Regions from separate parts of the Homo sapiens genome. Here region 1 is linked to region 2. The links are contacts of gene promoters, found by promoter capture Hi-C in human tissues and cell types (Jung and others, 2019). All regions are on one chromosome and are shown on one strand. Each heading gives the region's core, a stretch centred on a gene start or on the middle of the fragment in contact. The rest is flanking DNA. Distances are from core to core; before and after follow the strand shown. Region 1 holds the start of SV2A (synaptic vesicle glycoprotein 2A). Region 2 overlaps MRPS21 (mitochondrial ribosomal protein S21).

What was found. Contacts are between HindIII fragments. The study calls those that stand out against the background at their distance.
Region 1: a contact is called between the fragment with the promoter of SV2A here and a fragment that was not itself captured in region 2, in 1 of the 25 tissues and cell types used here (dorsolateral prefrontal cortex).

What each region holds. Positions count from the first base shown.
Region 1 is chr1:149,916,077-149,919,956 of GRCh38, reverse strand. SV2A (synaptic vesicle glycoprotein 2A) reads left to right here and starts at 2,113. Exons shown (of 13, transcript NM_014849.5): 1 at 2,113-2,218. RefSeq lists a silencer at 2,200-2,269. The HindIII fragment of the contact is 19,885 bases long and covers 1-3,880 here.
Region 2 is chr1:150,298,815-150,302,987 of GRCh38, reverse strand. All of the region lies in intron 2 of MRPS21 (mitochondrial ribosomal protein S21), which reads right to left. Among named protein-coding and RNA genes, the nearest start is that of MRPS21, 7.0 kb to the right of the region's middle. The HindIII fragment of the contact is 5,855 bases long and covers 1-4,173 here.

The DNA.
Region 1 (3,880 bases), core at 864-3,363, 380 kb after region 2:
ATCCTGGCTAACACAGTGAAACCCCGTCTCTCCTAAAAATACAAAAAATTAGCCGGGTGTGGTGGCGGGCACCTGTAGTCCCAGCTACTCGGGAGGCTGAGGCAGGAGAATGGCATGAACCCGGGAGGCGGAGCTTGCAGTGAGCCGAGATTGTGCCACTGCACTCCAGCCTGGGCGACGGAGCAAGACTCTGTCTCAAAAAAAAAAAAAAAAGTTAACTGGGTGTGGTGGCTCGTGCCTGTAGTCCCAGCTACTGGGAAGGCTGAGGCAGGAGAATCACTTGAACACCGGAGGTGGAGGTTACAGTGAGCTGAGATTGCGCCACTGCACTCCAGCCTGGGCGACAGAGTGAGACTCTGTCTCAAAAAAAAAAAAAAAAAGAAAAAGAATGTGTGTTAACCTGAAGACGGGTCAGCAATGAAAGTCTAGTAAAGGGAGAGTCCCTGAGGCCAGTCCAAGCACCATCCTGGAAAGCCGTCACATTCAGAGTAGTCCAGGAGTGCTGGCAAGGCTGCCAATAGCAAAGAGGTGGGGGTAGAAGATTGTTGCCAAGAAGAGTTTTCTGGACCCATTGGCATGGCTGCTTATTGCAGATGGCCAGATGCCATTAAAGATACAAATCCTCCAGTAATGTCATTGTGCATTTATACATTGACATTATGATTCTGATTTGGCTTCAGGGAGAGAATGTACTAGACATGTAGATATGAGTTTTCAGTCTGAGTGACAGTTAAATATTTATGATAAATTAATATTTATGTATTATGGCTTTATATTTCAGAAGATTGTGAACTTTGTTGGCATGAATGATTATTTCCAAGATCCAGCTTTGGAGTCTGCAAAGCCCAGGCCCGTGTCCCTGTCAGAGGTAAATTCAACCTGGCAAATGTTACCTGTGTGGTCTCTTCGGACATAGCCTGTCAGCCTTCTCCATGTATATATATCAGCATTCTGAAGCCTCCACATTTAGTAAGGCAGAATCACACGCTATTAGATCTGAGAGGGACCTGATGCAGTATCTAGTCCAAGCCCCCCTTTTCCAGATGAGAAACCTGAAGTTCACAGATGTGGAGAACTTGACCAAGAGTTGACAGCTTGTTAGCAGTGAGAACCCAGGTCCAAGCCCAGGTCAGTGCTGTCTGGAAGGTCCTGACCTTATCTGGCATAGACACATTCAGGATGTATTTCCCCAAATCACCATATTCCCTCTCACTCCTTCGGCAGGGATGGTCATCAAGTGTCACCAAGTGGCATGTCTTGGATCTCTGAGTCCAGGTTATTGATGCAAGAGCAAAGGAAAGATGAAGGGAAAAGCTGAAACAATTTACTTCTTCCTGCCCGGGAAGTACAAGTGTGTGGAGGGGAGGGGAGGGAGGTAGAGGAGAGTAAGAGAAAATGGAGAAGGGTATTGAGAGGATCCTTTTTGAGTCATTGGAGCAAATTAATGGAAGGGGAACTGTCCGGTTGGTCAGGTCTGTAAAAATCCCTCAACTTCCCCAGTACTTCTGCTACCACCAACTGAATGGACAGGATGAGGAGGTGTCCACTGTAAATAAGTAACCTGGACTGTTTTGTGAGGAAAGAGATGGAAGGAATCCAGGGGTCTCTGACTCTGGCAGTTCAGGATAGAAACCACACCTTGTTATCTCTGCTTTCTCTAAAATGTCCAGGTAAACTTGGAATAGGAGCACTCTGGATTTGGGAGACTGTTGTGAAAAAGGAGTTTGAGAGCAGTGGAGAAGGCAAGGGAGGTGTTTTGAAGGCAGCAAAAGCCCCTGAAATTATTGGGTCCTGCCATACTGAGACTGGGGTGCTAAGGAAGGGGCTGCCACATTCCCCATCTCCCTGTCTTCCCACTTGTCTTCCTAACATCACTGTTTTTTTCTTTAGTTCCTTCTATCTTTTACTAGGAAGGGCCTGGGAAGGGCTGGGTGCCATTTCCAGCTGTTCTTGTGACAACCTCCGGCCCTTTCATCATTTCTCCCCGTGCCCTGACTCCCTCCCCATCCTCTTTTCTCCTCTCCCCACCAATGGTCTCTCCCGATGCTCAGTGGCGCGGGGTAGGGGGGGGCGGAGGCGGGGCTGGAGTGGTGGAAGGGGGGTGGCAGGTCTGCATTGCCGCTTCCCTGGTGCCGGGAGCAGTCGCCGCTGCCGCCTCCGCCCGCGGCCGGGACCCCCGTCCTCGCCCGGGACTCCTTACCCGGGGAACCTAGACCAGGTGAGACCCCTTTCTCAGTCGCTCACCTCCTCCCCGCCCCTGGCAGAAGCATCTTTGCCTTGCCTTGCAGCCATTTTATCCTCCGATGCTTTGCTTATGGGGAGGGTGACGATCCCCTCTCTAGGGGTGAGGGGGGTTGGTGGGTTGGTGGTGGTTTGGGGATGGACATTTATTTCAGTTGTGCTCTTCAGGACACACACACACACACGCATATGTATAATATTGGTGAATGGGGAGGAGGGGTGTTTTTCTCTACCTTAACCAAGTCCCCACTATCCCCTTCGGAGATTAACGTGGTGGTGGGGTTGTGAGGTGGGATGAGGTTCCCTCAAACTCCTATCCCCTCCTCACCTTGACGTCCCCCCACCCCCAGGATGAATGATAAATGACCTTGGCTGGGGCTGGAGAATGGATGCTGCCTCAGTGTGCACGCCTGGACTTGGGTGGGTGGGGGGCAGGGGAAGAAGGGCAGGTGAAGGATGGAGGGAAGGGGAGTGAAGAATGGAAATACTGGGGAGACAGAGATGTAGAGCCGCCAGGTGTTGGGGGCATGGATGGCGGGGGCTGGCGGCAGTTGCTCCGGGGTGGGGGGAAGGGATGTTGAGTGAAGGTGGACACTTGTCTAGCAGCAGGACCAAGGGTGGAGGAGGTGCTCAGAGCAGGGATTTAGTCAGTTCTGGGGGCTTTTCCCTTATTCCGGAGCTGAGGCAAGATGGGGTGTGGGGGGGTCGCTGCAAATGCTGATAGGGGCGGTCTCTATGTCTGTGCATGCGGAGGTCTCTCCCTGCGTCCCCCTCTCTGCCTCTCCGTATTCCTCAGTGTGCATTCTCAGCTGACACCCTCATTTTTATCCCTCAGAACTGTGGGTGCTCCTATCTTCCTAACCTTGGTAGGATGTGGGGAGGGGAGGCGCAGTCTTGATGGTCCTGGGTGGGGGCTGAAGTTCGATGACCGGGCTGTCATGGGGAAGGGGTGCTCCCGCACCTCCCACATTCTACCCCCGCCCCCGCGGACGTTTTGATAAGTGATTGCTTTTTAATGACCTTGTCACCTGAGCTAGGAAGGCCTGGGGATCTGGGTGGACCCCAAAGTCAGGGGCTTTGACTGGGAGGGTGGGGGGTTCTGGACCCAGGGCTGGATGAGCTGTTCTGAAAGAAAGCATTTGCTCTGGAGTCCCCTGCCTGTCTCCACCCTCTGCAGAAAATCTCCTGGGCACATTTTTTCCTGTCAGGTGAAGTCAGCCAGCCTAGGACCTTGTAACCCTGAACCTTGTCTCCTTTAACCTCCACCTCTCCAAGTCTTGTCTCACTCCCCCAGGCTTAGCCACCCTGTGCTGTTTTGGGGGCTAAAAATAGCACCACTTCCTCACCAGCTCAAAGAATTTGTCTTCTTTCTTTCTCTCCTGACCTCCTGGGCTTGCTGGCCCTGAGGAAGCTGGCTGTTGAGACCTCATATCCTGCTGTGGTTGTGGAAGGCTTCCCTGCCCTACGTGCCCCTCTCAGGGGGAAATAGGGTCAACAAACATAGAGTATGGCTCCTGGTGGGTCCTGCCTCCTTCAGGGCTGGAGGGGAGATCCTGGTTAGGAAAGAGAGGAAAGCTAGCAAATTGCCATGCGCTGAGGGGATTCCGCAGTTCCAGCTCTTTCATGGGGGATGGTTGGG
Region 2 (4,173 bases), core at 605-3,104:
AAAGAATATAATGATGGGGGTTGGTAAATGGCATTCCCTGGATGTACTACTTACTTCCAAAACACAGACCAAATAAATTCCAAGATGCCAGGTGAGGATTCCCTCCCTTACCCGACACGTTCTAGTCATACTAAAAAAGGCACAGATTATCTTCAAATGCCCCAGAGTCCCTATAGTAGAGGTATCTACTCAACTTTACCTCTAACAGAAAAGGATGCAAGAAAAGCTTTGTAAAACACAAGAATAGAGGGGGTGTTACTAATGATGCTTCCTTCTGCTTCCAAAAGTAGTTCAAGGACTAGTACATCAAGAGCTTTAGAGTAAACAGATCAGCCTGGAGTTCGGGCGCCTGGCAACCTAATACTGAAGGAGAAACCAGCTGCCAGTTTTAGTGAAATTCAAATGATTATGTAAAAGGAGCCAAGCTGCCTGGAGCGGGGGGAGGTGCGGGTGGCAGACTCACATGTCAGTGTAGCCAGTCTACGTCAGGACAGACGTGTATGCAGAAGGACTCAATGGACCCAGAAGGTAGCCCACTAGGAGTAAAAGGAGTCAACAGGGCATGCTTCCAGTGTACTCACCTTTCTTTGCTTGGGGGCCAGCCAATCATGCAGGGCTTCCTAGCAACCCCCACTCTCCACCTTCTCATCCCGGGGCACCAATGAGGGCCCCCAGTTATATAACAGGCATTTTGTGGTGGCCTCACTGGACAGACACGTAGGCTATTTCCTTTGTAAGACTCTCTCTGTACTCCAAACATGGTAAAGCTTTAATCACCTCCCTCTAGACTCATTTGCTCTCCTACCTATTGTTGTAATTAGACCACAGAACAAGCAAATTATTTTTAAACTACCAGCTATGAGAAAGCTGAAAGAGATCAGGAGAGGCCTGGAGTGTGAGAAAGATATACAGAAAAAGTGGCTAGAGAGAGGACATTTGGGAAAAGCAGAGAAAAAGAAGAAACAGAAAAGTGCATCAGTCAGAAAATGTGTTTAACAGGCAGCAGGAAAACAGAAGATTGGATCACTCCAAAATCAGTCTGCTCACGTATGCAAGCTTGAAAGTCCTTACCTAGAAAATTATTCTAAGAGGCCGGGCACGGTGGCTCACCCCTGTAATCCCAGCGCTTTGGGAGGCCGGGCGGGCCAATCATGAGGTCAGGAGTTTGAGACCAGCCTGGCCAACATCGTGAAACCCCGTCTCTACTACAAAAAATTAGCCGGACGTGGTGGCAGGTGCCTGTAATCCCAGCTACTCGGGAGGCTGAGGCAGGAGAATCACTTGAACCCGGGAGACAGAGGTTGCAGTGAGGCGAGACCACGCAGTCTGGGCAACAGAGAGAGACTCCGTATTAAAAAAAAAAGAAAGGAAAAAGAAAATTATTCTAAGACTGAAATATTTGTTCATTTCCCCCCTGCCCCGCGAAGCTATAATACAATTTATGGGACTCTGAGTCTATGGGACTTGAATTTCTTTTCCTTTTTTGAGACGAAGTCTCGCTCTCGTCCCCCAGGCTGGAGTGCAATGAATGGCGCGATCTCGGCTCACTGGAACCTCCGCCTCCTGGGTTCAAGCGATTCTCCTGCCTCAGCCTCCTGAGTAGCTGGGATTACAGGCACCTGCCACCATGTCCGGCTAATTTTTTTTCTTTTGAGACGAAGTCTCGCTCTCGTCCCCCAGGTTGGAGTGCAATGGCGCCATCTTGGCTCACTGCAAGCTCCGCCTCCCGGGTTCACGTCATTCTCCTGCCTCAGCCTCCCGAGTAGCTGGGACTATAGGCGCCCGCCACGGCGCCCAGCTAATTTTTTGTATTTTTAGTAGAGACGGGGTTTCACTGTGTTAGCCAGGATGGTCTCGATCTCCTGACCTCGTGATCCGCCCCCCTCAGCCTCCCAAAGTGCTGGGATTACAGGCATGAGCCACCGCGCCCGGCCAATTTTTGTATTTTTTTTAGTAGAGACAGGGTTTCATCATGTTGGCCAGGCTGGTCTTGAACTCCTGACCTCAGATGATCCACCCGCCTCGGCCTCCCAAAGTGCTGAGCTTACAGGGGTGAGCCACCGCGCCTGGCCAAATTTATTTTTCTAACCACTCCTCTTCTTTCTTAAAAAGAAAAGAATATAATTCTTTTCTTTTTAAGCAATGTAAATTGCTTTTTTCCAAATCCTACTCCTACTTTGGTGTTTTAATCCCTGAAGAAAAGGTAATACTGTGCTTCTTAACCAGGGTAATTAACAGAATGCCAAAGGATACAAGTTTCTGGACAAATTTGATGCATCTGCCTGGAGGCACCAATTTTAACTCGAAGGAGTGGGGGTGTTACCCATAAAACAGATGCAATGGCAACGAATACGAAGTTCACCTTACATTTTAATTTAGGGAAGCTTCAAAGAAATTCCATGTTTGCTTATAGTAGCAGAACCCCTATAGTTCATTCACTCTCCTCTGCTGTTAACGACACTTCAGTAAAAAAGTTTGACAAACATTAAATAAGTGACAAAAAAGATAAAGGAACATTTATGTTCATTAAGTAGACATTTAATGAGAGCTTTGGATGTGCCAGACACTTTGGTAAATCCAAGAGATACACAAATGAAAAAGCATAGGTTTCTGTCCTTAAGGAGGCTACAAGCCTTTTTTTTTTTGAGACAGGGTCTCACTTTGTCACCCAGGCTGGAGTGCAGTGGCGCGATCTCGGCTCACTGCAACCTCCAGCTCCCAGGTTCAAGCGATTCTCCTGCCTCAGCCTCCCGAATAGCTGGGATTACAGGTATGCACCATCATACCCGGCTAATTTTTATATTTTTAGTAGAGACGGGGTTTTACCATGTTGGCCAGGCTGGTCTTGAACTCCTAACCTCAAATGATCCGCCCCCCTCAGCCTCCCAAAGTGCTGGGATTACAGGCATGAGTCACTGTGCCCAGCCAGGAGGCTACAAGTCTATTATAATAATTTTCAATCCTGGTGAAATCTCATGGTATGTTTTTTAAAATGCTGCCATCCAGGTTGCAACCCCTGGAGATTCTGATTCATCTCAGATTGGGCCCTGGCATTAGTTTTGTTTTCTTGATGGTTCGTTCCCTAGGTGATCCTAATAGGCAGCCAGGGTTGAAACCACAGGGTGTCACACTGACCACTCTCCGGCTCTCTAATATTAACACTTCGACCCAGGAAATAGGTTTGTGTAAAATGCCAGTCACCAACAAAAAGAGAACCATAAAAGTAGTATGTGGGCTGGGTGTGGTGGCTCACACCTGTAATCCCAGCACTTTGGGAGACAGAGGCGGGTGGATCACCTGAGGTCAGGAGTTCGAGACCAGCCTGGCCAACATGGTGAAACCCCGTCTCTACTAAAAATACCAAAACTAGCCAGGCGTGGTGGCAAGTGCCTGTAATCCCAGCTACACGGGGGGCTGAGGCAGGAGAATCACTTGAACCTGGGAGGCGGAGGTTGCAGTGAGCCGAGATCATGCCACTGCACTCCAGCTTGGGGGACAAGAGCGAGACATCGTCTCAAACAAACAAACAAACAAACAAACAAAAAACAGAAAAAAAAACAGGAAAAGCAAAAACTGAGTGTTGATTAAATTAAAAATATAGTGGCTGGACAAGGATTTTTAAAAGAGGCAGATAAAAAGGGGTATAGACAATCTTAGACAAAGAAATAAGAGTCTTCTCTCAAAAGATAAGAGCTGGCCTTATATTTTCTGCAAACCTGGTATCAGTGAAGAGGATCAGGAAGGAGATTAGAAATATTTTGTTTCTCAGATTCTGTTTCAAATTTTAGGTGTAAATGGGGATGCATTCCATATATGATATGGGGCATCACTGCAGTCTCTGCCTCCCAGGTTCAAGCGGCTCTTCTGCCTCAGCCTACGGAGTAGCTGGGATTACAGACCTGTGCCACCATGCATGGCTAATTTTTGTATTTTTAGTAAAGACGGGGTTTCGCCATGTTGGCCAGGCTAGTCTCGAACTCCTGGCCTCAAGTGATCCACCATTCTTAGCCTCCCAAATTGCTGAGAATACAAGACTGAGGCACTGCACCCAGCCGCTACTCTCTTGATACAACTGTAAGAAGTGGTTCAGCTGGGCATGGTGGCTCACGCCTGTAATCCCAGCACTTTGGGAGGCTGAGGTGGGCAGATCACGAGGTCAGGAGATCGAGACCA